2 separate regions of the Homo sapiens genome follow, and region 1 is linked to region 2. The links are contacts of gene promoters, found by promoter capture Hi-C in human tissues and cell types (Jung and others, 2019). All regions are on one chromosome and are shown on one strand. Each heading gives the region's core, a stretch centred on a gene start or on the middle of the fragment in contact. The rest is flanking DNA. Distances are from core to core; before and after follow the strand shown. Region 1 overlaps SLIT3 (slit guidance ligand 3). Region 2 holds the start of SLIT3 (slit guidance ligand 3).

Region 1 (4,170 bases), core at 422-2,921, 560 kb after region 2:
TTTGGTAGCGATGTCCTGATTCATGCTGAGGTGCCAGCAGTTTTACCCTCCACTAATTTTGTACCATCAGTGCAAATGTCAACACAGGGCAAAAGGAAAATAACATTTTAACCTTATTGTAAATATAGTTTTGGCCTCATAGACCCCTGAAAAAGCCTCAGGGACCCCCGGGGTCTATGGATGACACTTTGAGAACCACTCTGGTCATTACATATTGGTGGGCAATGGATAGAGAGAGATAACTGCTCTAAGTCAGCACGAAGTTCCTAATTTAAAAGGCAAGCTTACAGAATCTTATGGAAAGCAGGACAGAAGCAAATACAGGACATCTCAGCCCTCAAAGTCACCAGAATACTCTCTGTGAAGGTAGGGCCTCACTGCCTTCAGAAAGTACAATTATTGCCATGCAACTGTCCTTTTAAATTCATGCTTACCTCACTATTTTAGAACTGAAACCTAAAAATCTGCTTGCTTCCATTTATGGAAATGTTTACAAACATCAGGTTTCCTGGTTCTGGAAACAAACTCTGCAAAGCCTACATCTTCATAACGGTTAGAGAAGAAATGCAGAATCCAGTGCTGGTGAACAGCTTTCCCCCATATCTACCCCTGGTTAATATCCATGATGTTTAGACATATATTTTTGGTCTAAGGACAATGAGCATGGATTTGTTGTCCTATAACTTGATATCCCAAGGAAAAGAGGGGGGAAGGATGACATAGCTCCAGGCACAACTATTGGAAGAAAGGATTTGTATTAGGATGCGGGGTCTGAGAACACTGTGGGAAGCAGGCTGGCAGTGTGCATATGCATGTGCATGTGTGTGTGTGTGTGCACAGCACTGACAGGAGACAGGAAAAGGATGGGGCTCAACCAGGAGGTAGGAGGGCACAGGGCTGAGATGCAACTCTCTGAGAGTGAGTGTGGCAAGAGGTGATGACAAGAATGCACTGGTTGAAGAAGCAAGAAGGACCTGGCCTGGCACTGTGTGGGTTCCAAGGAGTTAGGGGATGGAGGTCTGGGGTCCAGAAAGCTCAGTGGCACTTGGTCCTCATCCATAGTTTTATTGGGGGAGACATGCAGGCAGGAGAAGGGGGAGTGCGACGCAGCAGATGACAAGCACAAGGGAGTGGCTCAGGCAATATGTGCTCTGGGAAGAGAGGAATCCAGGAAATTCTGCCCACCTGGCCTTTAAGAAAGCAAGCAAGAATGTCCTGCCTATGCTACAAACCACCACAGCCACCATTTCTAGAGCATTTACTGTGTACCAAGTGCTGTGCTGGGTTTTCTTAATAGGTAATCTCATTTCACCCTGCTAACAACTCTTCAAGGCAAGTGTCATTATTCCCATTTTGCAGGTGAGATAACCGGAGCTACTGAAGGTTGAATAATTTTTGACGATCACACTGCCAATAAGCAGCAGACTATAGACTCAAGCCCAGGTCCATCTGACCCCAAGTCCTCCCTGTGGCAGAAACCCAGGTCCCTATGTGTTCTGCCCAGTGGCCTGGCTTGCTGGGGGCTTACATGGGTCCTCTTGAAAACTGACATCTGCATTGCAGCAGGGAGGAGGCAAGCCCAGGCACTCTGCATTGCAGCAGGGAGGAGGCAAGCCCAGGCACTCTGCATTGCAGCAGGGAGGAGGCAAGCCCAGGCAGCCTGCCATGAGGCTATAGGTACCTGTCAGTGGTTCTGGCTATGTCCATCCTGACAGCTGGGCCTTCTCTAGCAAGGCAAGCTGCTGCCCGAGAAGAGCCTGCTGCTTTTCATATCCCCCATGCTCCCCAGAGCACTTAATAGAACAACTGCCCAGCACTGACTACATCCTTGACATTCTCTGGCCCAGGGAGAGAGACTGAAATGTGCCTCCAGCCAGCTGGAGGGGTTGATCACATCTTTGGAGAGTGGACCAGCTCTGGGCACAGCAGCACTTATGAGTCCTGGCACAGGCTCTGGCCCAGAGAAGACCTCAGCAGATGGCACCAGTAGAGGACACTTCTCCACACTATTGGACAGTGACAGCCATCTATGGGAGGGGCTGTGGGTGGCCTGAGCACAGGCCGAGAGCTGAGAAGGCTCCCTTCCATTCATTGAGTTCATTGTGCCACACACTGTGGTAGCAGCTGAAGGTACAGTGGCTACCATGACAGATAAGATCCCTTTTCTCAGAAACTGAGAGTAGGGGAGAAAGACAGTAAGAAAACCGACCAGATCAGGCATTTCACACCAGGAGTAGAGGGGGATTTCCCAGGAAAGTAAAGGAGGGAAACAGAGTAGAAAGAACATGTTTTATGAAGACCTCAAGGTGGAAAGATCTTAAATTCAAGAAACCAAGAAGGCTGTGAGATGGAGCAAATAGGATGACAAAGAGGGTGATGTGTGCTGAAAGCTTGAGAAGGGATATGTAAGTTCTTGTAGGTATAGGGAGAGCTGACTCCAAGAGAAATGCAGGAATCCAGGAAGAATTTTAAGTGGCATGATCCAATTCTCATTTTAGAAATACTACCCTGGAGGAAGAAGAAGAGAATGAACAGCAAGAGGAACATTATCTTTCAATAAGCTATGTGTATTATTGGATGGAGATGTGTGTGTGTGTGTGTGTGTGTGTGTGTGTGTGTGTGTGTGTGTATCTATCTGTCTATATGTATGTGTATGTATATTTAAAATGTGTTGGCCACCAGTGTGCCGGGTACTGCTCTGAGAACTGTTCACAGAGACTCAAATTTAATCCTCAGAATCACATCAAGGTGGTGATCATTATAAGCTTTGTTTTACAGGTGACTAAATGTAAGCTCAAAGAGGTTAAGTACTTCACCCAGGGTCACACAGCTCTTAGATAGTAGAGCCAGGATGTGAGCCTCAGCTGCCTGACCCCTGAGCTGCCCCCACATCACTCCAGGACTCTAGTGGAAATTCTGGCCTGGAGCAGAGTCTCTGGGAAGGTGGCTTCCCTCCCTCTCCATTAACATCAGCTGGTTTGAGTTCTTTGTGGGGCATCAGTCAGCACCCCAAAGCTCCAAACAGGAATGGGGAACACCCATTCACAGAGATCTGTGTGGAGTTTCATGCAAGGCAGATGTGTCCTTGTGTGTTTGCACTGGGGCTGAAACAGAGCATTTAAATGCAGGCCAAATGCAAAGGGTGACCTGCCAGAAACACTCCGGCAGTTCTAAGGCTGGTGGGGCAAGAGGGCAGTCTCCTGAAAGGGTCCCTCTGGGAGCCTGGACTGTAGGCTACAGACAACTTTGGAGTTCAGAGTTTTCATGAAGGGCCTGCTACAAAGAGAGCTCTCCCCACCACTGCATCTGCATTTCTGATGTGAAAGCTTTGATTCTGAGTCTTCTGAGCTGTGCTGCCAGGTCGCCGGGGACATTCTGCACTGAAAGCAACTTGTGCTTGGCTCCATCATGCCAAACGCAGCTCTCCCTGAGGAGTTCAGGGGTTTTCATCACACAGATGACGTTTCCTGAGCATCTGCTGTTGCCAGGCAGAGTGCGAGAATGCTGTGGTGAGCCAAGCAGACATGATTCTGCCCACATTAATCACAGAATCACACGAAAGATGTCACCATGGGGGTCAAATGCTGTGATGAAAAGACAGCCAATGCTTTGGCTGTCTTATATAACTTTAGGCCAAAAGCACTTAATAGACATTTACAGAGATTCTACCCAACAACTACAGAATATACATTCTTTTCACCAGCACATGGAACATTCTGTAATATCACCAGCACATGGAACACCTGTAATATCATTGGTAGGTGTGGGAACTGATATTGAAAAACTAATGCTGGAGCTGAGATCCATGCATCTGTAGGAGTTAACCTGGCAAGGAGGGAGGAGAGACACTAGTGTGTACAAACACCTGCCCCCCACCAGAGGGGATGGGGCATTTTAGGAAGGTTAAGGCCAGTGGAGTTGGAACCAGAGGTCAAGGGAAAGTCTGATAAAAGATGAACCAAAGACAGGAGGCAGGGCTCTAACAGTTAATTTCCTGTCTCAACTGGGTAGGCTGTGGTGCTCGGTTGTTTGGTCACATACTTGGTCTAGATGTTGCTGTGAAGGTATTTTGTAAATGCAATTAATATCTACAGTCAGTTGACTTTTTAAACAATATATTTAGGAGGTACAAGTACAGGTTTCTTACATGCATATATTGTGTTGTGGTAA
Region 2 (4,744 bases), core at 1,517-4,016:
AGGAATGGGCGAGTAGTTTGCTTTTGAAAAGCCTATGGAAAAGTAAAGGGGAAAATTCAAAAGTGTCCAGGGACTTTTACGCAACTCTAAAAATGACACCACAGAGTGTAAAGCCACCTCTGGCCCTTGGACATAGAAAGTTCTAAACAATAGCCTGACCTCCTAGTGATTTACCCAGTCTTCTCCAAGGAGGGTAATTGCTCCATGGGGTGGCTACCGCCTTCTGCAGATGCCCCAGAATCAGCTGAGGAAGTGGACAGAGCCACATGTTCAGCATTGGAAGCCCGGAGTCCTGGCTCTGGTTATTTCACTAATTAGCTAGGTGACCCTACATAAATGCCCGCCTTTCTCTGAAACTCAGCTTCCTTGTTCGTAAAATACAAGAGTTGAACTATATTTGGGTTCTCAAAGTATGTTCCAAGAGAATTTGCAGTTTACATGAAAAGTGGTCCTCTATACTGAGAAACTGGGTTAAATAAGCCTTAAACAGGTTTCCTTACTGCAGGACTTCTCAGGAACTTAAAAACACTCATCTGTGATGCAATTCTCCAAGAGGGGTGAAGGTGAGTAGCATTTCTCAATCTGTCTTTGCCCAAGGAGACTTTTTTCTCCTCCATGATGAAACATGTGGAATCAGTAGTCATCAGAAGGCACTTGTAGAAATGTTGGATTAGGTGATTTCTAAGGCTGTACCAGCCCAAACACTCCATGATTCTGTGTATCCTGGTGTTCTGGGCCCCTCCTGTATTTCCCACTTGCCTCCTCCTTGGGGATGATTGACTCTGAAGGAAATCCTCACCATCTGTTCTAAGGGGCTTCTCCCAGGAAAAGTCACACTTGAATGCCTATAAAGTCCCTTAAAGATACAGTCTGGCTCATGAAACCCCCCTGAGCAGCTTAAATGGAAAACGCAGTCCCCCACTGCGCTCAGAGCACAGATCCAGGACCAGCCCGAAGGGATTGCAAAACATGCTCTAGCATGCATTTGGGAAAACAAAGAAAACCGTACTGTTTTCTGCTCCAGACAGTCTGAGACGCTTTGTGCCCTTGGGCCCTTGCCCGGTTCTCTCATCTGCCTCAGTCCTGGTACTAAATTGGTTCAAGGTTTGGAGGAAAGCTTCAGAGCAAAGGGATAAAAGGATGTTTAGAGTTCTTAAATACCGAAGTCACCCTGAAGACCGGAGCATAGACCCTCGCCAGCCACCAGGGGGCGATAACAACAGCATCTGTACAGAAAGCCGTTCCCAAGAATAACAGCAGTAAATTGCACCTAATGTGTTTATGAATGATGAAGGGACTCGAGTGTGTGTGTTTGAGTGAGTGTGCGTATGTGTGTGTTTGTGTGTACGCGCGCGCAAGTGGGTGCCCAAAGCTAAGACTTTGAAAATCTGCTAAGTATAATACAATAAAATCTACAACTCTACTATATATTCACAGGATGTGGTCAAGTAGTTGAAAGTTTCCTTGAAGGAAAATGAGGTAGAAGAAATCAGAATAGTATTCTTATGAAAGAAAAGAGAAGCGCTCTCAGGAGTATAGTTGTCACTATGTGAGTGTGTGTGCGAGCATGCATGTACACGTGTGTGTGATTGCCGGTGTATAAATGGGTGTGTGTGAGCCTGAGTATGTGAGAGTGTGTGCGTGGCTGTGAATACGTAGGCACCAGTGTGTGTGTATATATATGCAGGGCTCATTCAGGCCTTCTCAGTGTGAGGGGACCTCAAGGAAATCTGGGCAATACTTCCTCCAGTTCCTGCCCTTTCCTTTCAAACAAACAAACAAAATCATTCCTACAAGTATTTATGGAGCCTCTAACGCACACGCCCCTCCCCACTGGCATCTGGAAAAGCTCAGACCTAGCCAATTTAAAGCGGGCGCTGGAAGAAAGAAGGCGCTGGGGACAGAAGGGATGCCTCGTCTGCGAATGACTTTTGCAAAAACACGTTCTCTTCTGTGATGCTCCAAACAACCCAGGGAGGTGAGGCCAGGTAGGACTGTGGCCCCGGATTTGAGAAAACGAAGGCTCAGAGATGACACGATTGGCCCAGAGTCACCCAGTCAGGAAGCAGAAACCCGAGGATGGAACAAGGCATTGTCAATCCAGGGGTCCAAGTCGCTGCCATCACTACTTTTACCAGTCCACCAAGCGCTGGGTCTGGGCAAAGCAGGGCAAGTTTCCGGGTAAGGTTTGCCAGCAGTGACCTCAACAACATGGACCACGGTGTGTGTGTGTGTGTAGCTGTGGAGTACATTGGTGTCAACCAAGGCTCTTCAGGCAAAATTGTGGATCTCTGCCATGAGTACTAGGTGCGGTAGGGAAGCGGCTTCGTGGGCGACACTGCCATGGTTTGGCGTCCCTAGCAGCTGTGCGACCTCCAGCAAGTCGCTTCACTTCTCTGAGCTGTTTTCAGACGACCCCTTGGAAGATCGTGGACTTAAGTAAAGAATATGAGTAGAGTGCTCAGCTCAGTGCAAAAATTAAAAAAAAAAAAGTGTCAGGAGCCTTATCCGTCCTTGGATCTTAACAGTGAATGAGTTTCAGTGTTTCTTTCCAGGGGCCCTGCTGGCCGAGCCCCTTTCCTTCCCTGGTTCCTTCTCTCTCCCTCCTCTACTGCCTCCTCCCTCCAGGCTCTCGGTCGCTCCAGCAAAGTTCCCAACTTAGTCGACATGACGCGCGGCGCAGCCAATGGGAGGCGGAGTTGGCGTTTCTTGGTCGGGGGGGGGCCGGAGGGGTGGGCCCCGCGTCTCCGGTGTCTGCCGTGCTCACTGAATGGAGAGAGCGAGCGCCGGCCAGCTCACCCGGCCGCCCCGTGCCCCAGCCGCAGCCGCCGCGCTCCCCAGCCCAGCCCCAAGCCGGACCTCCCCGGGCGCCACGCCCCATTGCGCTCGCCCCAGGTCCCCAACCCGGCCCGCGGGCCAGCGGGGCCAGGGGGCGCTCCGCACCTGGGCACTCCCAGCGATGCGCAGCGGGGCAGCGCCGGCCCCGCCGATGGAGCTGCTGTTGCTGCCGCCGCCGCCGCCCGGAGCGCCCCGCTCCGCCCGCGCCCCGTGCGCCTGAGCACCGAGCTCGCCCCTCCTCCGCGCTAACTCCGCCGCCCGCTCCCCAGGCCGCCCGCGCTCCCCGCGCGCCTCCTCGGGCTCCACGCGTCTTGCCCCGCAGAGGCAGCCTCCTCCAGGAGCGGGGCCCTGCACACCATGGCCCCCGGGTGGGCAGGGGTCGGCGCCGCCGTGCGCGCCCGCCTGGCGCTGGCCTTGGCGCTGGCGAGCGTCCTGAGTGGGCCTCCAGCCGTCGCCTGCCCCACCAAGTGTACCTGCTCCGCTGCCAGCGTGGACTGCCACGGGCTGGGCCTCCGCGCGGTTCCTCGGGGCATCCCCCGCAACGCTGAGCGCCTGTGAGTACCCCTGCCCCACCCCACGCGGGCCACCCACCTGGGTCCCACCGAGGGGGCCCCAGGCGCCAGATCCGTCCTTTCCCCTCGGCCTCCCTGGATGCAGTCTCTATTCTCATCCCTTCCTGGATACGATCCCTCACTCTCCGAGCTGGGGGTCTGTAGGCTTGGTCAGATCTGGAAAGAGAGGTCTCGAAACCCCCAGCGATGGGCAAAGAGCAGTGCCTCTCCAGGGGTGAGGGTTCCAGACGCAGGGCCCGCTGACAGCTTCCAAGGAGTAGCTGAGGAGAGGCGAGGGGAGGCAAGAGCACTGCAGCCTCAAGGTCTTAGGGTGAGGGTCAGGGGTCTGCGCTCGTTAAAAAGGGGGGCGGGCGAAGGAGAAAGCTATAGGATGATGGGCCGTCAAGGCGCGGAGGCGGGAGAGAGGGCCCGAGACTGTTGACCTGCTTGGAGATCAGAATGGGCCAGCCGCTCTCTGGCTGCCCTTGCAAGGAAAGTTGAGAGTGTGGGTGAAGGTTTAACTTCTGAGGAACTGGACAGATTCAGAGTGGGTGCTCGCAAAACCCGCTCTGCCTGGAGCGCAGTCTGGGAGATGCCAAGTTGCAGCCCCGGGTGAATTTTTTATGGCTCGGTTATAAATGCCTCCCCGAACGAAGGGGCCGGAGAATGGAAATGCTGACAGCCCTTCAAATGAGACCGAGCGTTATAATCTTACAAACCGCACTCAGCCTCAGATCCTGGGCTTGGCAGCGAATGGAGAGGCGCTTGGAGAATGGGGTGGATTGACCCTAGTTTTAGCCCCAATTGTGCAACCAAATATTTACTTTTCATATGTCAACGTTTTGGAAACATTTATCATTTTGATCCTCGGACCAGATTCAAAACTTGGACTCCGGGGTGGGCTCCTCTTAGTCCGCAGTTGGGGTGGGGTAAGGGAGTGGGGGAGAAACGCTGGAGTGGGTGGGAAGCCTTACTGGGAACCCAGCCGAGAAGTGGGTGAGGGTTTGCTCTAGTGTGGTAGATTCCCTCCGTGTCTTGCTCTCCCTCTTCTCCCCTTCCTCATGTGCCTTAGGGGTAGGCGCCTGGATCTTCCACTCTGCTTTCTTGACTTCAGGCTGGAAGAGAGTAGTGATGACAAGCATTGTCCTAGAGTGTGTTATTCCTGCTAGTCACCTCCTATCACCCCACCTCCTCTTCTCTTCCACTTCTTTGTGCATCTCTGGGTGGAGACTCAGCAGAACTGTCTTCCTTATTCCTGGTGCTCTCTTTTTCCTTTGGCTCAGTACTTTTTTGTTTTTCCACAAGTGCAGTGATTGTTTTGTTGGGTTGAACCACAGAATCCTAAAGGGTGAGAG

The links. The method cuts DNA at HindIII sites, captures the fragments that hold promoters and counts their contacts. A contact is called where the count stands out against the background at its distance.
Region 1: a fragment that was not itself captured here is called in contact with the fragment with the promoter of SLIT3 in region 2 in 2 of the 25 tissues and cell types used here (mesendoderm cells and thymus).

What each region holds. Positions count from the first base shown.
Region 1 is chr5:168,734,121-168,738,290 of GRCh38, reverse strand. The region is part of intron 20 of SLIT3 (slit guidance ligand 3); the gene reads left to right. Among named protein-coding and RNA genes, the nearest start is that of SLIT3-AS2, 29 kb to the right of the region's middle. The HindIII fragment of the contact is 5,291 bases long and covers 1-4,170 here.
Region 2 is chr5:169,299,161-169,303,904 of GRCh38, reverse strand. SLIT3 (slit guidance ligand 3) reads left to right here and starts at 2,766. Exons shown (of 36, transcript NM_003062.4): 1 at 2,766-3,392. The coding sequence starts at 3,196. The HindIII fragment of the contact is 12,348 bases long and covers 1-4,744 here.